7 separate regions of the Homo sapiens genome follow, and regions 1, 2, 3, 4, 5 and 7 are each linked to region 6. Evidence: promoter capture Hi-C in human tissues and cell types (Jung and others, 2019). All regions are on one chromosome and are shown on one strand. Each heading gives the region's core, a stretch centred on a gene start or on the middle of the fragment in contact. The rest is flanking DNA. Distances are from core to core; before and after follow the strand shown. Region 1 overlaps PIGZ (phosphatidylinositol glycan anchor biosynthesis class Z (Gwada blood group)). Region 2 overlaps FBXO45 (F-box protein 45). Region 3 overlaps SENP5 (SUMO specific peptidase 5). Region 4 has its middle 19 kb from the start of WDR53. Region 5 overlaps SENP5 (SUMO specific peptidase 5). Region 6 holds the start of CEP19 (centrosomal protein 19). Region 7 has its middle 11 kb from the start of SMCO1.

Evidence for each region. The method cuts DNA at HindIII sites, captures the fragments that hold promoters and counts their contacts. A contact is called where the count stands out against the background at its distance.
Region 1: a contact is called between a fragment that was not itself captured here and the fragment with the promoter of CEP19 in region 6, in 2 of the 25 tissues and cell types used here (dorsolateral prefrontal cortex and lymphoblastoid cells).
Region 2: a contact is called between a fragment that was not itself captured here and the fragment with the promoter of CEP19 in region 6, in 1 of the 25 tissues and cell types used here (spleen).
Region 3: a fragment that was not itself captured here is called in contact with the fragment with the promoter of CEP19 in region 6 in 1 of the 25 tissues and cell types used here (liver).
Region 4: a fragment that was not itself captured here is called in contact with the fragment with the promoter of CEP19 in region 6 in 1 of the 25 tissues and cell types used here (lymphoblastoid cells).
Region 5: a fragment that was not itself captured here is called in contact with the fragment with the promoter of CEP19 in region 6 in 2 of the 25 tissues and cell types used here (IMR-90 fibroblasts and dorsolateral prefrontal cortex).
Region 7: a contact is called between a fragment that was not itself captured here and the fragment with the promoter of CEP19 in region 6, in 1 of the 25 tissues and cell types used here (lymphoblastoid cells).

Annotation. Positions count from the first base shown.
Region 1 is chr3:196,947,926-196,951,387 of GRCh38, reverse strand. PIGZ (phosphatidylinositol glycan anchor biosynthesis class Z (Gwada blood group)) reads left to right here. Exons shown (of 3, transcript NM_025163.4): 3 at 2,703-3,462. Among named protein-coding and RNA genes, the nearest start is that of NCBP2AS2, 7.0 kb to the right of the region's middle. RefSeq lists a silencer at 1-30 and an enhancer at 2,557-3,304. The HindIII fragment of the contact is 5,138 bases long and covers 1-3,462 here.
Region 2 is chr3:196,577,942-196,581,495 of GRCh38, reverse strand. The region is part of intron 2 of FBXO45 (F-box protein 45); the gene reads right to left. Among named protein-coding and RNA genes, the nearest start is that of FBXO45, 11 kb to the right of the region's middle. The HindIII fragment of the contact is 3,487 bases long and covers 146-3,554 here.
Region 3 is chr3:196,879,639-196,883,306 of GRCh38, reverse strand. The region is part of intron 1 of SENP5 (SUMO specific peptidase 5); the gene reads right to left. Among named protein-coding and RNA genes, the nearest start is that of SENP5, 14 kb to the right of the region's middle. The HindIII fragment of the contact is 5,535 bases long and covers 1-3,668 here.
Region 4 is chr3:196,547,372-196,551,221 of GRCh38, reverse strand. No RefSeq gene overlaps it. Among named protein-coding and RNA genes, the nearest start is that of WDR53, 19 kb to the left of the region's middle. The HindIII fragment of the contact is 5,845 bases long and covers 1-3,850 here.
Region 5 is chr3:196,925,843-196,929,524 of GRCh38, reverse strand. SENP5 (SUMO specific peptidase 5) reads right to left here. Exons shown (of 10, transcript NM_152699.5): 8 at 1,646-1,729. Among named protein-coding and RNA genes, the nearest start is that of NCBP2-AS1, 12 kb to the left of the region's middle. The HindIII fragment of the contact is 3,553 bases long and covers 1-3,096 here.
Region 6 is chr3:196,710,622-196,714,335 of GRCh38, reverse strand. It overlaps CEP19 (centrosomal protein 19), which reads left to right and starts at 2,086. Exons shown (of 3, transcript NM_032898.5): 1 at 2,086-2,407. It overlaps PIGX (phosphatidylinositol glycan anchor biosynthesis class X), which reads right to left and starts at 1,959. Exons shown (of 6, transcript NM_017861.4): 1 at 1,692-1,959. The coding sequence starts at 1,803. RefSeq lists silencers at 1,560-2,189, 2,024-2,336. The HindIII fragment of the contact is 13,108 bases long and covers 1-3,714 here.
Region 7 is chr3:196,525,081-196,528,446 of GRCh38, reverse strand. It overlaps the pseudogene NAA50P2. Among named protein-coding and RNA genes, the nearest start is that of SMCO1, 11 kb to the right of the region's middle. RefSeq lists an enhancer at 460-529. The HindIII fragment of the contact is 4,673 bases long and covers 1-3,366 here.

The DNA of each region.
Region 1 (3,462 bases), core at 963-3,462, 240 kb before region 6:
TCTGTTAGGCGGTGTGGGACACATCATGAGGCTGGTTGCCTGGCCCATACCGTCTCGCCCAAAGGCCTTGAGGCCTTTCAGATGTGATGGGCATGTGGGGTCATCCTCATAGTTCAAGACGGCTGCTTGAGCTCCAGCCATCAAGCCTACAGGCAGTCTTTCCAGCCAACAAAGGAGAAGGGCATTACTTCTCTCTTTAAGGTCATATTTTGAAGGGCGCATGCTTTTTGCTCATTTCTATCACACTGGGCAGAATGTATCATGAGGCCACACCTAGCTGCAAAGGAAGCTAAAAATTATAGTCTTTATATCTGACCAAGTGCCCAGAAAAAGAGTCAAAGGAGTCAGATGCAGTGGCTCACGCCTGTAATCCCAGCACTCTGGGAGGCTGAGGCAGGTGGATCACCTGAGGTCAGGAGTTTGAGACCAGTCTGGCCAAAATGATGAAACCCCATCTCTATTAAAAATACAAAACATTAGCCTGGCATGGTGGCAGGCGCCTGTAATCCCAGCTACTTGGGAGGCTGAGGCAGGAGAATTGCTTGAACCCAGGAGGTGGAGGTTGTAGTGAGCCAAGATTGTGCCACTGCACTTCAGCCTGGGCAACAGAGCGAGACTCCATCTCAAAAAAAGAAAAAAAAAAGTCTAATGAAGGAGGAGGGAATAGATATTTTGGAGGCATCAGCTTTCTTTGCCACAGGGCTCAACAGGTGAATTTGTTTTTTAAGTTAAAAGGCTCATCTTCTTTCCCTCACGTCGTTTTTTAACCAGAAAAGCAGCCAGATAGATTTGATCCTGGATTTTGCTTCCCTTTCAACATCTAACATAGATAGATAAAACAGCTGAAAGTCTGGAGAAATAAGTAGCAGAATCAAAGAGCCCGAATGATCCGCAGGCTGTATGATCAGCTCGAAACAGCCAGCAGGTGATCAAGCAAGAGACGCTGTGAACAATGAGGCTTGGAGTGGAGCTGCTCCCGCGCCCCCACCCCTCAGAGCTCTGGGACGTTGGGGCACAGGGTTACAGAACAGGCAGCAAGTATTTCTTAAATTATGTAAGTACTACTTGGATATATTCTTCTTACAAAAAATTTAAGTATCATAGGCAGGGTGCAGTGGCTCACGCCTGTAATCCCAGCACTTCAGGAGGCTGAGGCGGGTGGATCACCTGAGGTCAGGGGTTCAAGACCATCCTGGCCAACATGGCGAAACCCCATCTCTACTGAAAATACAAAAATCAGCCAGGCACAGTGGCGGGCGCCTGTAGTCCCAGCTACTTGGAGGCTGAGGCAGGAGAATCACTTGAACCCCAGAGGCAGAGGTTGCAGTGAGCCAAGATAGCGCCACTGGACTCTAGCATGCGTGACAGAGTGAGACTCTGTCTAAAAAAAAAAAAATTTAAGTATTGTAAACAAAACTAACATAAATCACCTCTGACATAACCCTGATGGCTCATCACCTACCCCTCTTCTCTCCCCCCATCTCCTGATAACAATCATTATCAGAGATGCGGCTCTGTCAAGCTTGACAGGTGTAAGGACAAGGGTGCTTGTCCTTGGCTTTTGAGATCTTGGAACCCTGAGAAGAGGTTAGGCCTCCCCCACCTGCCCGCCTCCCACACACTCTTCCCAGGACACACTGCCACCTCATCTCCCGGGGAAGCCCCTCCTGCCCTCTGCACTCTGAGCTCCCCTGCACTTGCTTCTGCTGCTCCTGACAAATCCTCAAAATCCTACGAGCAGCTCAAACTGCACCCGTCTGTGAGTTCACAGTTCTGTCCATCAGAAGGGCAGCACGGGCTCTCTGCTCACAAGGTGGACATCAGCGTATGGACTGGGCTGAGTTCTTGTCTGGAAGCTCTCTAATTCTAGCAGAATCTAGTTCATTTCAGCTGTGGAACCTATGGTGCGGCTTCCTTGCTCTTAGCTTTCAGAGGCCACCCACATTCCTAGCCAATGGCCTCTTCCGTCTTGAAGCCAGCAGTGGCATGTCAAATCCTTCTCATGCTTTGAATCTCACTGCCACTTCTGCGTCCAGCTGGTGAAAACTCTGTTATTAAAAGATTGTTGTGATTAGGTCCGGCCCACTGCATAGTCTCCCTATTTTACAGTCAGTGCTCCTGTATAAGTAACCTAATCTCAGGATACAGTCCATCCTGCGGGCCAGGTGCAGTGGCTCAAACCTGTAATCCCAGCACATTAGGAGGCTGTGCTGGAAGAATGGATTGAAGCCAGGAGTCTGAGATCAGCCTGAGTAACATAGCGAGAGCTGTGATCTCGCCACCGCACTCCAGCCTGGGTGACAGAGATGAACGAAGCGAAGGAAGGGGAAGGAAGGGAAGGGAAGGAAGGAAGGGAAGGAAGGGAAGGGAGGGGAGGGAAAGAGAAGTAAAGGGAAGGAAGGGAAGGGAGGGGAGGGGAAGGGAAGGAAGGGAGGGGAGGGGAAGGAAGGGAAGTAAAGGGAAGGAAGGGAAGGGAGGGGAGGGGAAGGGAAGGAAGGGGAAGGAAGGGAAGGAAGGAAGGGAAGGAAGGGAAAGAAGGAGGGAGAGAGGGAGGGAAGGGAGGAAAAATCCAGCCCGTGCACAGTCCCAGGGATTACGCAGGGCACACACACCAAGGGGTGGGAAATGTGGGGTGCCCTCCTAGAATTTTGCCCACTACATCCCTGAGCTTGGTACTGGCTCACCTCTGCCTCTCTCTGCAGAGGACATCCTGGGCGTTCAGGCCGCGCGGCCCTGGGAGTTTTACCCCAGCAGCTCCTGCCGCTCGGTGCTCTTCCCCCTGCTGATCTCTGGTTCCACCTTCTGGCTGCTCAGGCTCTGGGAGGAGCTGGGGCCGTGGCCTGGCCTGGTGAGCGGCTATGCGCTGCTGGTGGGGCCTCGACTCCTCCTCACTGCCCTTTCCTTTGCTCTGGACGGGGCCGTGTACCACCTGGCCCCGCCGATGGGGGCGGATCGCTGGAACGCCCTGGCCCTGCTGTCTGGTTCCTACGTCACCCTGGTCTTCTACACAAGGACCTTCTCCAACACCATTGAGGGACTCCTCTTCACGTGGCTGCTGGTGCTGGTATCCTCCCATGTAACGTGGGGCCCTACACGCAAGGAGCCGGCGCCGGGTCCACGGTGGCGCAGCTGGCTTCTTGGAGGCATTGTGGCTGCTGGCTTCTTCAACCGGCCCACCTTTCTGGCCTTTGCTGTGGTCCCCCTCTACCTCTGGGGCACTCGTGGAGCCACAAACCCTGGTTTGAAGTCTCTGACCCGGGAGGCCCTGGTGCTGCTCCCTGGGGCAGCCCTCACAGCAGCGGTGTTTGTGGCCACGGACAGCTGGTATTTCTCCAGCCCCGCTACATCCAGGAACCTTGTCCTGACACCTGTCAACTTCTTGCACTACAACCTGAATCCCCAAAACCTGGCGAGACATGGCACGCACGCGCGGCTCACTCACCTGGCAGTCAACGGCTTCCT
Region 2 (3,554 bases), core at 640-3,139, 130 kb after region 6:
TCACTTTGGGAGGCCGAGGCGGGCGGATCACGAGGTCAAGAGATCGAGACCATCCTGGCCAACATGGTGAAACCTCATCTCTACTAAAAATACAAAAATTAGCTGGGCATGGTGGCACACACCTGTAGTCCCAGCTACTCAGGAGGCTGAGGCAGAAGAATCACTTGAACCCGGGAGTCGGTGGCTGCAGTGAGCCCAGATCGTGCCACTGCACTCCAGCCTGACGACAGAGTGAGACTGTCTCAAAAAAAAAAAAAAAAAAAAAAAAAAAAGGAAAAAGAAAAAAAAGGAAATTCTAAAGCTGAAGTGTACAATAAGCAAAATTTACTAGCCCAGTTCAATAGCAGAGGTGAGATGGCAAAAGAAAAAAATTTATAACCTTGAAGACAGAACAGAAATTATCTAATTTAGGTCAAGCCCAGTGGTTCATGCCTATAATCCCAGCACTTTGGGAGACTGAGGCAGGCAGCTGCTTGAGCTCAGGAGTTTGAAACCAGCCTGGGCAAAATGGCAAAACCCTGTCTCTACAAAAAATACAAATATTAGCCAGGCATTGGTGGGGAGCACCTGTAGTCCCAGCTACTCTGGAGGCTGAGGTGGGATGATCACTTGAGCCTGGGAGGCAGAGGTTTCAGTGAGCCAAGATCATCACGCCACTGCACCACTGCACCACTCCAGCCGAGGTGTCAGAGCGAGACCCTATCTCAAAAAAAAAAAGGAAAAGAAATTATCTAATGCAAAGATTAGAGAGAAACAAGGTTGGGGGAAAAAACAAGAACATAGTTTTAGAGGCAGAGATAAGGACAACATCAAGCAATCCAACACTTACATTAAAGGTAAATGAACTAAACACTTAAAAGTCAGAGACCGAAGCTGGGCGCAGTGGCTCACAACCTGTAATCCCAGCAACTGGGAGGCCAAGGCAGGTGGATCACTTGAGGTTGGGAGTTCGAGACCAGCCTGACCAACATGGAGAAACCCCGTCTCGCCAGGCATGGTGGCTCATGCCTGTAATCCGAGCACTTTGGGAGGCTGAGGCAGGCGGATCACGAGGTCAGGAGTTCGAGACCAGCCTGGCCAACGTGGTGAAACCCCGTCTCTACTAAAAATACAAAAATTAGCTGGGTGTGGTGGCGCATGCCTGTAATCCCAGCTACCCAAGAGGCTGAGGTAGGAGAACTGCTTGAACCGGGACCCGGGAGGCAGAGGTTGCGGTGAGCTGAGATCATGCCATTGCACTCCAGCATGGGCAACAAGAGTGAAACTCTGTCTCAAAAGGAGAAAAAAAAAAAAAAGAAACCCCTTCTCTACTAAAAAAATATAAAATTAAATTAGCCGGGCGTGGTTTAGAGGCGCATGCCTCTAATCCCAGCTACTCGGGAGGCTGAGGCAGGAGAATCACTTGAACCTGGGAGGTGGAGGTTGCGGTGAGCCGAGATTGCGCCATTGCACTTCCAGCCTGGGCAACAAGAGTAAAACTCCGTCTCAAAAAAAAAAAGTCAGAGACAGAGACTGGGTTAGATAAAAATCAAGATCCAACTATGTGCTGTGTAGGAGCTCCACTTTAAATACAAAGACAGATTGACAGAGGATTACTAGAGTCAAAGGAAGTCATTTCATAATAAAAGAATAAATCAGGCAGGGAGATAAAACAATTAGAAATGTATATGCACCAGTAGTAACAGAGCTCCAAAATACATGAAGCAAACACTGAGAGAACTAAAAGAAGAAAGACAAATTAGCAAGGATAGATGGAGATTTCAATACTCCTCTTAGTAAATAATAGAAGGGTAGAAAAAAATCAGTAACACTATGTAAGACTTGAACATTATCAATCGACTTTGCCTAATTCTCATTTACAGAATATTCCATTCAGCAAAAGAATATACATTTTTTCAAGCACACATGGGACACTCATCCAGACAGACCACATATTAGAATAAAACAAATCTCAATAAATTTAAAAGGACTAAAACCATAGAGCATGTTCTCTGAAAAACAGACTTAAGGACTTTCACTTACAAAATCATTACAAGGGTGGCGACAGGACTTCGTTTTTAGTGATAAAGTCTACACACCCTTCTCCTTATAGTATCCGCAGAGCCTAAAAGGATAGTGAGGAAACATTCCATGAAAAAAATCCTTCCAGCTTTTATACCTCAGAAAATGGGATGTATTTTTGGTTCTTCTGCTTTAGTATGCCTGACTTGAGGTCATTACTGAGGCTGGAACTTTCACGCCACAGGTGGCTCTGAAATATGCAATCTATAGTTCTTTAAAGACTTCCAATTTCTTATCAGATTATTGTATATTACACCCTGTTAAGTCTGTAGTAATAAATACGGCTTTTACAAATAGGAACTATAATTTTAACTTGAGTCAAATGAGTATGCCTTAAGCCTAAGATGAAAAGAATAAAAAATACAGCAGTTTGCCTGAATTTGCCTGTCTCTGCAGAACTCACTGATGCCTCCAGGGGCTTTGAATCCACAAACATGTGCATGCACAGAGCTGTATTTACTGGGGTAAGGAGCCTAGAAAAAGATTTGGATGTGCCGTGATACAGGAAAGATGACCATCTAGAGCAGGGGTATTCAATCCTTTGGCTTCCCTGGGCCACACTGGAAGAATTGTTTTGGGCCACACATAAAATACACTAACACTAAAGATAGCTAATCAGCTTTAAAAAAAAAAATTGCAAAAAAATCTCATAATGTTTTAAGAAAGTTTATGAATTTGCATTGGGTCACAATCAAAGCCATCTTGGGCTGCATGCAGGCTGTGGGTTGGACAAGCTTGATATAGAGCATGAACTGGCAAACTACAGCCCCTGGACCAAATCTGTCCTGCAGCCCATAAATAAGGTCTATGGAATACAGCCATGTTCGTTCATTTACGTATTATCGATGACTGCTTTTGTACTATAAATAGAGTTGAAACTCGTGATAGATCCTTACCTTGAAAATGACATTAAAAAAAAAAAGTTGTGACAGAGACCATATGGACTGCAAAGACTTAAAGATTTACTACGTGGCCCTTACAAAAAGTTTGCCAACCCCTGATCTGGAGCAAAAATAGGCTGCTTAAAGTTGTATTAGGAAACAAATATTGAGATAGATCATTTATACATTTATTTAAAAATGGTCAAAAAATCTCCTTGAGGCTGGGCATGGTGGCTCACGCCTGTAATCCCAGCACTTTGGGAGGCCAAGGCAGGTGAATCACGAGGTTAGGAGTTCAAGACCAGCCTGGCCAAGATGGTGAAACCCTGTCTCTACTAAAAATACAAAAATTAGCCAGGCATGGTGGTGGGCGCCTGTAATCCCAACTACTGAGGCTGAGGCAGAGAATTGCTTGAACCTGGGAGGTGCAGGTTGCAGTGAGCCGAGTTGGCGCCACTGCACTCTAGCCTGGGCAACGGAGTGAGATTCTGTCTAAAAAAAAAAAAAGAATATTTTTCTGCATAGCCAAAATCAAAATATAACACCCAACAAAATTAACTATAACCCCCTAACATTAAAAAAAAAAAATCTCCTTGAAGTCTGGGTATCTGA
Region 3 (3,668 bases), core at 420-2,919, 170 kb before region 6:
GTGATATTTGGGGATGTCACAACAAAATAAGTCTGAACAATGACTCAATAGGGTGGCCTAAAGTTTAAGAAGCAGTTAGACTCCAGATCCCTACTTAACTCCACATGGCAGGTAAGTGACCCTCCCCCACCCAAGATTGGAAGTTTATCCTTTAGATAAAATAGTGAAATGTAAAATGCAAAAAAGAGTAAAATGGAAAGTCTGCAGACACAGGGACTCCAGGCATAATTTGAAGATGGAATTATATACTGCATATGAGACTCCGAACACACTTTGCCACTCATCTCCCAGAATGCTAGCAGTCTGTCTCACCCATACAAGCAGACTGAAGATTCTTTTCTGGAGACTATAACTAGTCCACCAAAAAAAAAAAAAAAATCCATAAAGATACAGATATTACCCCACAAAATGGCCCACAGTGTACCCCAAAGTTGACACATTCCACCATGTGTTAAGAGTTCCCAAGCAGTTTCTTAGTGGTCATTATTAAAAACAACTAGACGGGCTGGGCATGGTGGCTCACGCCTGTAATCCCAATACTTCGGGAGGCCAAGGTGGGCAGAGCACTTGAGGTCAGGAGTTCGAGACCAGCCTGGCCAACATGGCAAAACCCCATCTCTATTAAAAATACAAAAATTAGCTGGGCATGGTGGTGCATGCCTGTAATCCCAGCTACTTGGGAGGCTGAGGCACAGGAATTGCCTGAACCTGGGAGGCAGAGGTTGTGGTGAACTGAGATCGCACCACTGCAGTCTAGCCTGGGCGACAGAGCAAGACTCTGTCTCAAAAAAATAAAATAAAAAATAAAGGATGACCAAGAATCACCAGATGTCTAGGGATAAAAACAGACCAAAACAAACAGATAAAAGCAAAAACTATATAAAGTCAACTTTTATAAACCAACAGGGAGGGGGAGAAAAGGGAGTTATTGCTTAATGGGTACAGAATTTCAGTTTGGGAAGATAAAAAGGTTCCTGGAGATGAATGGTGGTGATGGTTGCACAGCAATGCGAATGTACTTTAATGCCAATGAACTGTACACCTAAAAATGGTCAAAATAGTAAATTTTATGTTATGTATATTTTACCACAATTAAAAAAAAAGAGGGGGCTGAGTGTGGTGGCTCACACCTATAATCCCAGCACTTTGGGAGGCCAAGACAGGCGGATCACTTGAGGTCAGGAGTTCGAGACCAACCTGGCCAACAAGGTAAAACCCCAACCCTACTAAAAATACAAAAAAATTAGCCAGGTGTGGTGGCACGTGCTTGTAATCCCAGCTACTCGGGAGGCTGAGACACGAGAATTGCTTGAACCTGGGAGTTCTGAAGGCTGCAGTGAGCCAAAATTGAGCCACTGCACTCCAGCCTGGGTGACAGACCAAGACTGTCTCAAAAAAAAAAAAAAAAAACTAATACTATCTCAAAGAAGCAAAAGCAAATATTACATCCATTGAAAAAAAAGAACAGGGTGTTATTCTTTTTCTAAAGGAATGGCCAAAAACAAGAAAGGGGTCTTGAAAATTAAAAATAATAGCAGAAATTAAAAACTCAATTAAGCTTGGAAGTTAAAAAAAATAATAAATGAACAAAATGAAAAGACAGCTGATAAATTAGAAAAAAATATTTGCAACATGTATCATAAAGGCCTAATATCCCTAATATATAGACCTCTTAAATTAAGAGATAACTGAAAAAAAGCCTAATGGAAAATAGGAAAAATACATAAGGAGACAATTTACAAATAAAGCTTTTTAAATGTTCCTTAAGCTTAAGAAAGATGTCCAAATTCATTTATAAGACAATTGGCAAAAATTATAACACATTCTCTTGGTGGGGAAGAAGGGCCTTTCCACACTTTGTTAGGAGGACTACAAATTGATCCAATCTTTTTGGAGGGTAATCTGGTAACATTTAATAACTACAAAAGTATTTACCTTTTAATCCAGCAACCCCACTTTAAGGAATTTACCTGAAGACATGCCTACAATAATACAAATATACACATGTACAAGGCTATTCATTGCAGCATTGTTTATAATAGCAAAATATTAAAAACAACCAGCAGGGAACTGTGGCTCAGCCTACAATCTCACACTTTGGGAGGCTGAGATGGGTGGACTGTTTGAGCCCAGGAGTTTGAGACCACTCTGGGCAACATGATGAAACCCCATCTCTACAAAGAAATATAAAAATTAGCCAAGTGTGGTGGCATGTGCCTGTGGTCCCAGCTACTCAGAAGGCTGAGGTGGGTGGATCAACTGAGCCCAGGAGTTTGTGGTTGCAGTGAGCTGAGATTGCACCATGGCACTCTAGCCTGGGCAACAGAGTGATGTCCTATCTCAAAAAAAAAATAAAAAAGGAAAAGGGCCAGGCGCGGTGGCTCATGCCTGTAATCCCAACACTTTGGGAGGCCGAGGTGGGCAGATCACCTGAGGTCGCGAGTTCGAGACCAGTCTGGCCAACACGGTGAAACCCTGTCTCTACTAAAAATACAAACATTAGCCGGGCACGGTGGCACATACCTGTAATCCAGCTACTCGGGAGACTGAGGCAGGAGAATTGCTTGAACCCAGGAGGCGCAGGTGACAGTGAGCCGAAATCACGCCATTGCACTCCAGCCTGGGGTACAAAAGCAAAACTCCGTCTCAAAAAAAAAAAAAAAAAAAAGAATAACTGGCTAATACTCTTCAATCACATCAGTCAAAGTCCTGAAAGACAAAGACAGACTGTCCTAGAATGAAAGACTGAGATTAAGGAGACGACAATTAAACAAGGTATAATCCTGGATTGAGTCTCAGTTCAGAAAAAGAAAAGTCATGTGACAACTGACAAAATTGGAATAAGGTGTGCAGATCAGTTAGCAGTATTCTCTCAACGTTAATTGCCTGGCCTTGACAATGTGCTGCAGTTCTATAACATTGGAGAGGCCAGGTACAGTGGTGCACACCTGTAGACCCACCTACGTGGGAGGCGGAGACAGAAGGATTGTTTGAGCCCAAGAGTTCAAGATCAGCCTGGGCAACATAGCAAGACTCTGTCTCCTTAAAAAAACTGAAGTAAGGTTGGGCACAGTGGCTCATGCCTGTGATCCCAGCACTTTGGGAGGCTGAGGTGGGTGGATCAACTAAGGTCAGGAGTTCAAGACCAGCCTGGCCAACATAGAGAAACCCTGTCTCTACCAAAAATACAAAAATTAGCCAGGCACGGTGGCATGAACCTGTAATCCCAGCTACTCGGGAGGCTGAGGCAGGAGAATCACTTGAACCCAGGAGGCAGAAGTTGCAGTGAGCCGAGATCACGCCACTGCACTCCAGCCTGGGCAACAGAGTGAGACCATGTCTTCAAACAAACAAAAAAAACTGAAACAAAACTTCGGAGCAAAGCTAGGTGAAGCATATAGAAAAACTGTAATATTTTGCAATTTTTTTCGGTAAATTTGAAGTTATTTCGAAGTTAAAAGTAAAACATTAAAACATTTAAAATTTTGAGCAATCTCCCAGAAAGTACCACAAAATGACAGACTGAAACTAACATAACAACTAACAAAAAAGGTTTACAGAGATGTAAGTTATCAAAATATTTACCTCCCATGCATCCTTCTCAGAGAGTCACAGGAGAAGGTACTCTGGCAAATATGGGAGTAAGTCAAGAATACACAGGATGCAGG
Region 4 (3,850 bases), core at 126-2,625, 160 kb after region 6:
GTTGTACTCTGTCACCCAGGCTGGAATGCAGTGGCACCATCTCGGCTCACTGCAACCTCCATCTCCCAGGTTCAAGCAGTTCTCGTGCCTCAGCCTCCCGAGTAGCTGGGATTACAGGTGCCCGCCACCATGCCCAGCTAATTTGTATTTTTAGTAGAGATGGGGTTTCACCATGTTGGCCAGGCTTGTCTTGAACTCCTGACCTCAAGTAATCCACCCACCTCGGACTCCCAAAGTGTTGGGATTGCAGGTATGAGCCACTGCGCCTGGCCAATTTTTGTATTTTTAATAGAGATGGGGTTTCACCATGTTGGCCAGGCTGGTCTTGAACTCTTGACCTCAGGTGATCCGCCCACCCTGGCCTACCAAATTATTTCACATTTCATGTACCCTCTCCAAATTACAATCAGTTTGTGGTCCTGGATGCACAAACTTGAGGCTGATACAGGGCCACCCAACCACTCCTTGCCAAGGGCAGAAATACTTTTCAGGATTAATCAGTCACATTCTGGCAGAATCGTGTAGTTCTGGTGCCATCAGCCTATGACCAGCTCTCCCTTGACCACAATTTTCCTATTTACAAGGAAAGAATTAGTGAAAAACAGTAATGCACAGCACATATGTTTTGTATGTATGTATGTGTGTGTGTCTTGTTTGCTGAACTATTTGAAAGTGAGGTACCTTGACACTTTGTATTAGTCTGTTTTCATGCTGCTGATAAAGACATACCTGAGTCTGGATAATTTATACAGGAAAAAAGTTTAATGGACTTACAGATCCACGTGGTTAGGGAGGCCTTACAATCATGGTGCAAGGCAAGGAGGAGCAAGTCATGTCTTACATGGATGGCGGCAGGCAACCCGAGAGAGAGCTTGTGCAGGGAAACTCCCCCTTATAGAACCATCAGATCTTGTGAGACTTAATTCACTATCATGAAAACAGCATGGGAAAGACCTGTCCCCATGATTTAATTACCTCCCACTGGGTCCCTCCTACAACATGTGGGAATTCAAGATGAAATTTGGGTAAAGACACAGCCAAACCATATCATTTCACCCTCAGCCCCTCCCAAATCTCATGTCCTCACATTTCAAACCCAATCATGCTTTCCCAACAGTCCCCCAAAGTCTTATTTCAGCATTAACTCAAAAATCCACAGTCCAAAGTCTCACCTGAGACAAGGCAAGTCCCTTCCTCTATAAGCCTGTAAAATCAAAAGCAAGTTAGTTACTTCCTAGATACAATGGGGGTACAGGCATTGGGTAAATACAGCTGTTCAAAATGGGAAAAATTGGCCAAAACAAAGGGGCTACAGTCCCCATACAAGTCCAAAATCCAGCAGGGCAGTCAAATCTTAAAACTCCAGAGTGATCTGTTTTGACTCTCTGTCTCACATCCAGGTCACACTGGTGCAAGAGGTGGGTTCCCATGGTCTTGGGCAGCTCTGCCCCTGTGTGCTTTGCAGGGTGCAGCCTCCCAGCTGCTTTCACAGGCTGGTGTTGAGTATCTGTGGCTTTTCCAGGTGAATGATGCAAGCTATCAGTGAAGCTACCATTTTGGGGTCTGGAGGATGGTGGCCCTCTTCTCACAGCTCCACCTGAAGGTGCCCCTGTAGGGACTCTGTGTGGAGACTCCTACCCCACATTTCCCTTCCACACTGCCCTAGCAGAGGTTCTCCATGAGGGCCCCACCCCTGCAGCAAACTTCTGCCTGGACATCCAGGTGTGTCCATACATCTTCTGAAATCTAGGCAGAGTTTCCCAAACCCCAGTTCTTGACTTCTGTGCACTCACAGGCTCAACACTATGTGGAAGCTGCCAAGGCTTTGGGCTTGCACTCTCTGAAGCCACAGCCCAAGCTCTATGTTGGCCCCTTTTAGCCATGGCTGGATTGGCTGTGACACGGCACCAAGTCCCTAGGCTGCACACAGCAGGGGGACCCTGGGCCTGACCCACTAAACCATTTTTTCCTCCTAGGCCTTAGGACCTGTGATGGGAAGGGTTGCCATGAAGACTTCTGACATGCCCTGGAGACATTTTCCCCATTGTCTTGTGGATTAACATTTGGCTTCTTCTTAACTTATGCAAGTTTCTGCAGCTGGCTTGAATTTCTCCTCAGAAAATGGGATTTTCTTTTCTATTGCATTGTCAGGCTGCAAATTTTCCAAATTTTTATTCTGTTTCCCTTTTAAAACTGAATGCTGGCTGGGTGTGGTGGCTCATACCTGTAAACCCAGCACTTTGGGAGGCCGGGGCAGGCAGATCACAAGATCAGGAGATGGAGACCATCCTGGCTAACACGGTGAAACCCTGTCTCTACTAAAAATACAAAAACAAAATTAGCTGGGCATGGTGGTGGGCGCCTGTAGTCCCAGCTACTCAGGAGGCTGAGGCAGGAGAATGGCATGAACCCTGGAGGTGGAGCTTGCAGTGAGCTGAGATCGCACCACTGCACTCCAGCCTGGGCGACAGAGCAAGACTCCATATCAAAAAAAAAAAAAAAAACCTGAATGCTTTTAACAGCACCAAAATTACCTCTTTAATGCTTTGCTGCTTAGAAATTTCTTCTGCCAGATACCCTAAATCATCTCTCTCAAGTTCAAAGTTCCACAGAGCTCTAAGGCAGGGGCAAAATGCCACCATTCTCTTTGCTAAAACATAGCAAGAGTCACCTTTACTCCAGTTCCCAACGAGTTCCTCATCTTCATCTGCAACCACTTCAGCCTCGATTTCATTGTCCATATCATTATAAGCATGTTGGTCAAAGCCATTCAACAAGTCTCTAGGGAATTCCAAACTTTTCCACATTTTCCTGTCTTCTTCTGAGCTCCCCAAACTGTTCCAACCTCTGCCTGTTACCCAGTTCCAAAGTCGCTTCCACATTTTCAGGTATCTTTTCAATACCACTCTACTGGTACCAATTTACTGTATTAGTTCGTTTTCATGCTGCTGATAAAGACATACCCAAGACTTGGTAATTTATGCAGGAAAAAGGATTTAATAGATGTACAGTTCCACATGGCTGGGAGGCCTCACAATCATGGTGGAAGGCAAGGAGGAGCAAGTCACATCTTAAATGGATGGCAGCAGGCAAAGAGAGAGCTTGTACAGGGAAACTCCCCCTTATATTACTAGTGGAAACAAGAATATAACAGCCTCCCCAAGTGCTCTTACAGGCATGAGCAACCATGCCCAGCCGGAACAAACTTAAATTCAACAATTACATATTTTTGGATTTTAAAAACTGCCTTATTGAGGTATAGTTCACATGCCGTACAATTTATCCACTTAAAGTATACAAATCTACTTCTCTACAAAGTTCACAGAAGAAATAAAGTATAAAAGTCAGTGGTGTTTTTTTTTTTTTTTTAGACCGTGTCTCAGTCTGTTGCCAGGCTGGAGTGCAGTGGCATGATCTCGGCTCACTGCAACCTCTGCCTCCCAGGTTCAAGCCATTCTCCTGCCTCAGCCTCCCAAGTAGCTGGGATTACACTTGCCCGCCACCATGCCCAGCTAATTTTTGTATTTTTAGTAGAGACGCTGGCCAAGTCAATGGTTTTTAATAAATTGAGGAGGTCTTACTGGCATCACCACAAGCTAATTTTAGAATCCCCTTATAGAACCATCAGATCTCATGAGACTTATTCACTATCACAAGAACAGCACGGGAAAGACCTGCCCCCATGATTCAATTACCTCCCACCGGGTCCCTCCCACAACATGGAATTCAAGATGAGATTTGAGTGGGGACACTCAAACCATGTCACACTTGATCTCAAAACTTCAGCATGCGTCTCCTAAAAAAGGACATTTTCCAGTATAACCATAATACTGATATCATGTATGAGAAA
Region 5 (3,682 bases), core at 71-2,570, 220 kb before region 6:
CCAGGACAGCTGGTATATCTGATATCTCAAGCATCTAATTTTATGGAGGCACCTGGCCACATAAAAAGAGCTATCAGGTGGCAACCCCAATTTATAGGACAATGTTTTACCTAAATATGAGAAATGGGAAATCAAATGTAAAAACCTGTTTTAAAACATGCATTTGGATACTGAGCTCTGCTATCAATTCATTGACAGTGGAGTCAAAATGGAACTGTGCCTGGGAGAACAAAGGCCCAGCCTCTGGATGCTAGGATGGCGACAACTCCGCTGAGCAGTCTTCACTTCTGATCTCACATCACACGACCCTGTCCTATTCTTTGAAAGAAATCGTGAAGGTAAACAGTATGGTTTTTGTTTTGGGTTTTTCGCGACAGGGTCTCACTCTGTCGCCCAGGCTGGAGTGCAGTGGCACGATCTCAGTCTCCTGAGTTCAAGCAATCCTCCCACCTCAGCATCCCAAGTAGCTGGGACTACGCCTGGCTAATTTTATTATTTGTAGAGATGAGGTCTCACCATGTTGCCCAGGCTGGTCTTGAACTCCTAGACTCACGCAATCCACGCACCTTTGCCTCCCAAAGTGCTGGGATTACAGGTGTGAGCCACTGTGCCCGGCCAACAGTATGTTTTTAAAAGAACTGGTTACTGTATTCTGCTCAAAGCGGTAATACAGAAGATCCTGACTAAATTTAGAATACCCAGATTTTTTAGTTGGGTAAATTCAGGAAATTTACTAGTTCTGGTTTGAACTGGTATACTAGGTTATTCAAAACACAAAACTTAAGCTTAATTTTAAAATTTAGCATTTGGTTCGGTTCAAGGGTGAACTAATAAATCTTGTCTCTTTGGGTTTGGGTTAAAGGTTTGTTTCAAGATCCTGCCTATAACATCCTGTCAATGATCCAGACAGACCTGTGTTCAAGGACCTGACTCTGTATCAATAGTTTTGATGTCCTTTGGGGAAAATCACACCTGGGCTTCAGTTTTCTCATTTACAAAATAAAGACGATGCTTATCCCTAAATGACCTGCCTACCTCACAGGTTATAAGGATCAAATGAGATCCAATACACAAAAACACTGGAAACAACACAGCCCACCATCAATGAAGACACTGGTATTTACGACAGGAATGAGCGGCTGTGCCTGGGCACTCTGCCCCACAGTTTGAATGTCATGGGCCAAGCATGGTGCTGCATCCAGACAGTGGTGGGACTGAAGCGCTTGGGCTACTATCTTCCCCACATGCCTGCCAAGTAGCTCAATGCACTTTCTCCCCCTCAGTGGATCCAAATAGTCATTTCAGCATTTCTCTGGGTCTATATGGGTCATCTGGAAATAAGAGCCATGATGCAAGAGGCAAGTGCCACCCAAAAAAGATTTTTTTTTTCCCCAGAAGAGCAAACACATCATTAGCAACTTCCTCAGGGAGGAAATGACTGAAGTGATTTGCTCCCGGGAAGCACTGGGCAACTGAGCAGCGATGATGAATAGTCAACTGAAGTTCATTCTCAGCTGCCTCCCTGGAGCCTCCAGGCTCTCCTTGGTATCTCTGTCACTAGTCTTCAAATGCTCTTAAAGGCACCCACCCTTAGATAATTCCATCCCCTGGACATGCCTGGGTTTCATTGTTATCACATACTTACCTTCGTAACAGCAGTCTGCCAACCCTGAAGAAATTCAGGTCTATTTTTTTCTCTGGCTTCAGTCAGCAAATACTTTCTTATATTCTGGTTAAAAAGAAACCACAACACAGATGCTGTGTTCCATCAGTTGGTGAAAAATGGAACATGCCCATAGCAGACAGAAGGAAAGGAGGAGGCTGTGGCCCCATAACTGGGCAGAATATGCATTAAGAAGCTGGAACAATTTTTTTTTTTTTTTTTTTTAAAGAGAGGATCTTGCTCTGTCACCCAGGCTGGAGTACAATGGCGTGATCATAGCTCACTGCAGCCTTGAACTCCTAGGCTTCAGAGATCCTCCTACCTCAGCCTTCCAAGTAGCTGGGACTATAGGTGTACACCACCGCTCCCGGCTAAAGCCGGGACTTTATTTCAGACTCTTCATTTCATATTGTTAAGGGGGAGTCAGACCTTCTGTATTCAAGGTATGCATCAAGACTGTGGACGCTGGCATTTGTGTAATCAGAACGTTTTATGAGATGGTTAGCCAGCCCTTCCCAGCAGTAAGTCAGCTTGCTGCATTTGAAACTTACATACTGGCAAGTCAAAAAGAAAGTCTTCATCATTGCCCATGCTCAACAGAGGAAAGGAACCCATGGCAGACATCATTAATAACTAAAACTAAATGAAAAATATTCCAGCCTTAGATATTCTGATACACTCCTTATTTTTGAGGGCTGCAGAAAAGGTTAACATTCAGCTTCTGGAAAGTAATACTAAAATTCCTTCTGAATACTAAATATGCTCAAGTCCACTGTTGAACTATCTACCAAGATGAAGCCTGCTGGAGTTTCAAAATGTCCCCAGTGCTCTCAACCTCTGTGCGTCTCTCTCCACATCAAGAGTGAAGTCAGAGGTTATGTGAATAACCCACCCCACCCCCCAACAAAAGTGGACCAGGGCCAGACGCGGTGGCTCACACCTGTAATCCCAGCACTTTGGGTGGCTGAGGCAGGTGGATCACATGAGGTGAGGTCAGGAGTTCAAGATCAGCCTGACCAACATGGTGAAACCCCATTTCTACTAAAAATACAAAAATTAGCCAGGTGTGGTGGTGCACACCTGTAATCCCAGCTACTCCAGAGGCTGAGACATGAGAATCGCTTGAACCCAGGAGGCGGAGGTTGCCATGAGCCAAGACTGGGCCACTGCACTCCAACCCAGGGGACAGAGTGAGACTCTGACTCAAAAAAAAAAAAAAAAAGGTGGACTGGAAGCCACCTCTTCAGAAGAAAAAACATGATGAAAGCAAATACTTAATATCCAACAAAGTATGACAGCATGTTGCACTGCTCCCTCTAAAGAAGTAACTTCAAGTTCTCAGAATAAGCAGTATATATAAATTCTTTTTTTTTTTTTTTTGAGACGGAGTCTTGCTCTGTTACCCAGGCTAGAGTGTAGTGGTGCGATCTCGGCTCGCTGCAACCTCCACCTCCCAGGTTCAAGCGATTCTCCTGCCTCAGCCTCCCGAGTAGCTGGGACTACAGGCGTGCACCACCATGCCCAGCTAATTTTTGTATTTTTAATAGAGACGGGGTTTCACCATGTTGGCCAGGCTGGTCTCTATCTCTTGACCTTCTGATCCGCCCGCCTCAGCCTCCCAAAGTGCTGGGATCACAGGCGTGAGCCACCCTGCCCGGCCAGTATATGTACATTCTTAAGTAAAATACAGGCAAAAAGGATTTGTCCTTAAAAATGGTCACCGGCACTCAAAATGTACTGAGCATCTCTAAGGGTTCAAGTGCTGGGGACACTAGTGAATAAAGCTCTTGTAGTCTCTGCTGTCATGGAATCTACACATTTATGTGGTGACTGTTTAAAACACTTTTTGTCAATTCTTTGGAAATACAGGCCCCTTAGTTAAGAGCCACTTCTACAACCCCTACATCCTCTTAAAACTAAAAACAGCTTGACCCCACCTGGCCAGATGACTGAACTGTATTTGGCTCTAAATGACTTCTAGCTATCACCTAAAAGGAGTCTGTTCTTAGGGTCTTTTTG
Region 6 (3,714 bases), core at 837-3,336:
CACGCCACCACACCTGGCTACTTTTAAATTTTTTTGCAGAGACAGGGTCTTGCTATGTTTTCCAGGCTGGTCTTGAACTCTTGGCCTCAAGCAATCCTTCCACCTCAGCCTCCCAATGTGTTAGAATTTCAGGTGTGAGCCACTGTGCCCAGCACAAATCCAGATCTTTCTTCATCCTGTTTAATTTTAATGGGGGTAGGGTGGGAAGTGAGGACTGCTATCCAACTATAAATTAAATTAGAAGAAAAATTATGAACAGGCTTAAATTCTACTGGTATGTACACCAGACAGCAGTTGATCATTGGGACCGGAGAAAGGCTAATTTACAAATAGTACAGCAAATACTAGAATGTCATGATTTTAAAGGCAAAAGTACCATTTTTAAAACGAATTTGTTGAATGTGAATTTACCTTCAACATTTTTCCTCTTAACTATTACTTTGGTAGTGGTGAACTGGCTCTGGAAATTGACTTCTTTTTCCTTTTTTTTTTTTTTTTTGAGACAGAGTCTCCCTCTGTCACCCAGGCTGGAGTGCAATGGCGCGATCTCGGCTCACTGCAACCTCCGCCTCCCTAGTTCAAGCGATTCTCCTGCCTTAGCCCCCTGAGTAGCTGGGACTACAGGGGCACGCCATCACGCCCCGCTAATTTTGACCCCTTTTCAATTATAAAATGCTAACGTTGGAAGCCTCTACAGATTACCAAATCCAACTGTTTAAAAATTCTTCTGGCCGAGCATGGTAGTTCACACCTGTAATCCTGGCACTTTGGGAGGCTGAGGAGGGTGGACCACCTGAGGTCAGGAGTTCAAGACCAGCTTGACCAATACGGCGAAACCCCGTCTCTACTAAAAATACAAAAAATTAGCTGGGCATGGTGGCGGGCACCTGTAATAATCCCAGCTACTTGGGAGGCTGAAGCAGAAGAATTGCTTGAACTTGGGAAAGGCGGAGGTTGCAGTGAGCCGAGATCGCGCCATTGCACTCCAGCCTGGCAACAGAGTGAGACTCCATCTCAAAAAAAAAATCTTCTTGGCCTCATAATCCTTTGTTTAGATAAACTTGAAAACCCAATATGTAAACACACAAGCAGAACTGCACTGATTGACAGATACTAAACGGATCTAAATGATACCAAGGATGACAGAAACATCCTCATTTTACAGATGGAGAAACTTGTAGGGTTTGTGCTTTCCTCCCATCAAACCTTACCCTTTATTGTAATTATTCCCGCACTTGCCCGTCTCAGTAGTACAAGCAGTTTGCCAACTACTACTTGCACGAACAACTAGCAGTTTGCCACGGAGTCCTACATTCAGTTTGGGGATTCTCAGGCCTCACAGGGCGCTAAGGCCTTGCCTGGCCCCTTGGTGATCAGAAGCTTCGTGCAGCTCAAGAGCATCCCAAGACGCTTGACGGCTGACTTTCCTTCTCAGAACTTTAGTAACAGGGCGGCCAGTCCAGCCTGGGAACCGCAGGGCCCGAGCCCGACTCTCCCGGAGACCCGGGATCCGCCGCAGAGCAAAGCGCACGGGAGGGAAGGAGGGCACACGGCTCTAGTGTCTGACCTCCTCCGGCTCGCCCTACTGATCTAGGTCCCGCGCCGGGTCCCCACATCCCCGCAACCCGCCGAGAGGCCCGGGAGCCGGGACCGCTCCCACGCTCTGGCCCCCCAAGCCCCGCCCCCCTTACCGGCGTCAGAGCGCGCGGCGGTGAAGGCCGCGGCGGGCCCGCGCGTGAGCCCGGTCGCCGCCCCGAGGAGCAGCCAGGCGGCCGCCCGAACCGCCGCCACCCGAGCCGCCAGGACGCCGGAAGCCGGACGCCCGAGAGGGGCGCGCGGGGCCAGGTGCGGACGCAGGAAGGGGCCTGGCCGCCCGCAGCTCCTACCGCGCGCTGCCCCAGATTTATCGGCTGGGACCGAGTGCTGGGTGCGCGCGCCTAGCGCCCGCGGTTCCCAGCTGCCTGCAGCCCCGGCCCCCAAGGGTTCCCGCGCGGCGTGGGGCGGTCGTCCCCGCCCAGCTGTTCCTTGCTCCGCCCACCCGGGGGCGGGCGAGGAGCTGCGCACGCGCGGGGACGCGCGCCCGGCCTGTCGCTGTGGAAACCGCTAGGCCAGCGCTCGCCGGGACCTGGAATCCCTGTACGCCGAGGTGGGAGCCGGTGGACCGGTCCCCCAGCCGGCCCCCACCTCCGCTTCCCGGTGTTTGAGGGTTCGGGCCTCCCGCCGGGGAGTTCACCCCTCGGGCTCGTCAGTAGGGCTGTGGCTGTCGCCTCTTCCTGCAGCGCCAGGCTCCGCCCGGTCTCACAGTCGGCTTAGGGGCTTTGCGTGCACTGCGGTTGGGTGGAAAAACCCACTCCTGGTTGTTTAGACGTTGGCCTGCAGACGATGTCATTTCTGTATTCCTCTAAGGGTAAGAAAGCCAGCCTTGCACTAGTGGAGACGTGAGTAGGGAGAGAATCGTCTACTCTTTGGGGACATTCGTACCCTTAGGTGCTGTGGGGCTTCCTAACAAGATTGTGGGCAGTTACTGATCTCTGGGGAGAGGAGTATTCGTGTCCAGGAAGAATAATTGGATAAACGTGCCGTCCTTCTTCCTAAACAGAGTGGAATCTGTAAGCAGGCCAAGAGAGCATCCAGGCGGCTTGGAGTGGAATAGAGGGCTCTAGAGCGGGTGTCTCAAAGAGGAAACAGAGTGTATGTCAAAACATACTATCCAAAACTGAAAATAGCCGGGCAGGTGGCTCACGCCTATAGCCCCAGCACTTTGGGCGAATCACCTGAGGTCAGGAGTTCGAGACCAGCCTGGCCAAGATGGCGAAACCCCGTCTCTACTGAAAATACAAAGATTAGCTGGGCATGGTGGTAGGCACCTGTAATTCCAGCTACTCGGGAGGCTGAGGCACGAGAATCGCTTGAACCCAGGAGGCGGAGGTTGCAGCGAGGGGAGATCACGCCACTGCACTGCAGCCTAGGCGACAGAGGGAGACTCTGTTTCAAAAGAAAAAAAAAAACTGAAAATGGTAGTATAAGCATGTTTCTTAAGAAATGGAGAGAGAAATTTTGGAAGATATGCCTTTTAAAATTCAGTCTGGCTCCCTATGAAGAGGAGTAGGGCCAAGGACGATAGTTTGTTGTTATAAGCCTCATAGAATTATTTTATATTCCAAATACAAACATTACTTTAGCAAAAATTAAAGTTAAATTTTAAAAAGAGTCTAGTAAAAAAAAAACTACATTATTTGAGTACCAACTGCATACATCTTTGACGAGTACAGCCATTGCTTCAGTGTGTGGAGTTTATATGTGCCCCGTAGGTTGTAGTTTACTAACATCAAATTTTAGTTAGGTGAATTGGGAATAGTATTCGTTAAAAAAAAAAAAAAAGCAAGAAAAGAGAAGGAAAAGAAGGAGAAATGGTGTGAGCTCATTGCATCAGATTAGAGGTAGAGCACAGTAATTTTTTAAAGTAGTTTTTTTTTTTTTTTTTTTTTTTTTTAAGAATAGGCGTATCATGCTTTGGAGAGGCTGTTGTGCAGTGGCACCATCTCAACTCACTGCAGCCCCAAACTCCTGGGTTCAGGCGATTCTCCCACCTTGGCCTTTGGTGTGGCTGGGACTACAGGTGCATGCTGCCATGCCTGGCCAATTTTTAAATTTTTTGTAGAGACATGCATGGTCTCGCTGTGTTGCCCAGGCTGGTCTCAAACTCCTGGCCTC
Region 7 (3,366 bases), core at 382-2,881, 190 kb after region 6:
TGAGATGGAGTCTCGCTCTGTCACCCAGGCTGGAGTACAGTGGCGCGATCTCGGCTCACTGCAACGTCCACCTCCCGGGTTCAAGTGATTCTCCTGCCTCAGCCTCCCGAGTAGCTGAGATTAGAGGCATGTGCTACCACGCCCGGCTAATTTTTGTATTTTTAGTAGAGACGGGGTTTCACCATGCTGGCCTGGCAGGTCTTGAACTCCCGACCTCAGGACATCCGCCCGCCTTGGCCTCCCAAAGTGCTGGGGTTACAGATGGGAGCCACCGCGCCTGGCTAATTTTTGTGTTTTTAGTAGAGACGGGGTTTCACCATATTGGCCAGGCTAGTTTCGAACTCCTGTACTCTAGGGATCTGCCTACTTCAGCCTCCCAAAGTGCTGGGATTACAGGCATAAGCCACTGCCCAGCCAAGATGGCACTTTTGACAACATCTGTTTGTCCAGATCAGCAATGAGTCAGCAATTGACTTCTACAGAAGTTTGGCTTTGAGATGACTGAGACAAAGACAGATAAAGGATAAGAGGATGGAGCCTGCAGATGCTCAGGAGTTGCAGAAAAACCTCAAAGTCCCTTCCGATCAGAATGGAGATATGCAAAACACAACTGAACAAGTCACAAAATGAACCTTCTTGCACTTGCTTGTTGACAAAAAAAGACAAGCCCATTGATTTTCACCCCCTCTTTCTTGTAAAGCTTTCCTGCACTGCCATGTTTTTGTTTTTCCTTCTTTCTTTTCTTTTCAAAGTTTTAATACTTTCAAGGACTTTAAAAATGATCATGTTTGGGCCAGGCGCAGTGACTCACTCCTGTAATCCCAGCACTTTGGGAGGCCAAGGTGGGTGGATCACTTGAGGTCAGGAGTTCCAGACGAGCCTGGCCAACATGGTGAAACCCCATCTGTACTAAAAATACAAAAATTAGCCAGGCGTGGTGGCGTGTGCCTGTAGTCCCAAGCTACTCAGGAGCCTGAGACAGGGGAATCGCTTGAACCTGGGAGGCAGAGGTTGCAGTGAGCCGAGATCGTGCCACTGCACTCCAGCCTGGGCCACAGAGCAAGACTCCATCTCAAAAAAAAAAAAAAAAAAAAAAAAAAAAAAAAGATCATGTTTGGATTGTTTCAGTTCTCTTATTTTTGTGAGGTGGTTTGACTGAAGGCAGGAGAAGGTAGATCTGTTTAATTTCACAGTTAAGATAAATGGTTCTAAAAATTTAGGTGTCAAATAATTTCACATTTCTTAGCTTGGAGTTGGAGACCAGCCTGGGCAACATAGCAAGACTCTGTCTCTATTTTTTTTTTTTGGAGACGGAGTCTCACACTGTTGCCCAGGCTGGAATGCAATGGCGAGATCTCAGCTCACTGCAACCTCCGCCTTCTGGGTTCAAATGATTCTCCTGCTTCAGCCTCCTGAGTAGCTGGGACTACAGGCGCCTGCCACCACGTCCGGCTAATTTTGGTATTTTCTTAGTAGAGACAGGGTTTCACCATGTTGGCCAGATGGTCTTGATTTCTTGACTTCATGATCCGCCTGCCTCGGCCTCCCAAAGTGCTGGGATTACAGGCGTGAGCCACCGAGCCTGGCCCTCTTAGTTGTTTTTTCTTAGTCCTGCTTTCACATCGAAGGGCAGAGCCTACAAAATATTGTACATTTCAAAAGACAGAAAGAAGCAGCAGTGATATCTTGTTTTCTAATTCATAGACGAGTTTAGTGTGCTTGTGGTACCTTGGGCTTTGAAAGCCTTTGTGGGATACCAATCCCTAGACATTATCTTCACTCCAGCTTTAGTCCTTCCGAGCACTCTCAGGAGTAGCACCGTTGCTATCTCTGGAAGAAATGCTGAGCATATTTATTATTATTATTATTATTTTGGAGACAGAGTCTTGCTCTGTCGCCCAGGCTGGAGTGCAGTGGCGGATCTCGGCTCATTGCAAGCTCCGTCTCCTGAGTTTAGGCGATTCTCCTGCCTTAGCCTCCCGAGGTAGCTGGGACTACAGGCACGCGCCACCACGCCCGGCTAATTTTTGTGTTTTTAGTAGAAAGAGGGTTTCACCATGTTGGCCAGGCTAGTCTTGAACTCCCGACCTCAGGTAATCTGCCTGCCTTGGCCTCCCAAAGTGCTGAGACTACAGGGGTGAGCCACGGCGCCTGGCCGCATATTTTGATTTTTAAAGCAATTATTTCTTCTCTTCTTGCTGGTGGGTGGGGCACCTTGGGTACGTAGTGTTATACTTTGGTCTAAGTATTTTGAGTTAAACTGCTTTTTTGCTAAAATGAATGGGCTGGTTTTTATCAGGTTTATTTTTCCTGCTGTTGTTACTAATGGCATTAACTTTTAGAGTCGGAAGCGGTAAGACTGATTTTTTAAAATATCCCAGAGATATGGCTTCTAATTGACCTAGAGATTTGTCGTAATTTAACTTTTTTCTCCTGCCCCTTTTCTTCAGTAAATCCAACAATAACCCAGGTGTGGTGGCTCATGTCTGTAATCCCAACACTTTGGGAGGCCAAGGCGGGTGAATCACTTGAGCCCAGGAATTGGAGACCAGCCAGGACAACATAGTAAGATGCCTGTCTGTACATAAAAATTAAAACAAAAAAAAATTAGCTGGGCGTGGTGGTGCATACCTGTAGTCCCAGCTACTTGGGAGGCTAAGGAAGGAGAATCACTTGAGCCCACGAGGTCGAGGCTGCAGTATGCCGTGATCATGCCACTGCACTCCAGCCTGGGCAACAGAGTGAGACCCTGTTTCTAAAAAAGAAAATGTTGGCCGGGTGCAGTGGCTCACGCCTGTAATCGCAGCACTTTGGGAGTCTGAAGACCAGCCTGGGCAACATGGTGAAACCTCATCTGTACAAAAAAAATTTTTAAGTCCATATAGGTTATTACCGCTAAATAAACGGAAGCAGGTGTTTTCTCTTGGACATACTGAAAATATTTAAAAGAAAGCTTAGATGGCAGCATGAGCATGAAGAACCAAGAAAGCATACTTGGAGTCAGTGCAAATGTTAGCTACCTTTCCTTTGCTTAATTCTAGTGCTCGAGTAAGAGCTATCAGCTCAGCTAATTGAGTGCTTGGACGGAGAGACACACTTTCAATGACGTCATTTAGAGTGACTACTGCATATCCTGCCTTATGGATTCCTTGTTCTACAAAAGAGCTCCCATCTGTGAAGAGGGTCCAGTGTGGGTTCTCTAGCGGTTTCCCTGAGATCTTCCCTGGCTGCATAGGTCTGTATCAGGACTTGTTCACAGTCATGTTCAGGTTCCCTAGTTTCCTTGGGGAGGAAAGTGGCTGGATTTAGGCGAGAACAATTTTTTTGTTTTTGGTTTTGTTTTTGTTTTTTTTGAGACGGAGTCTC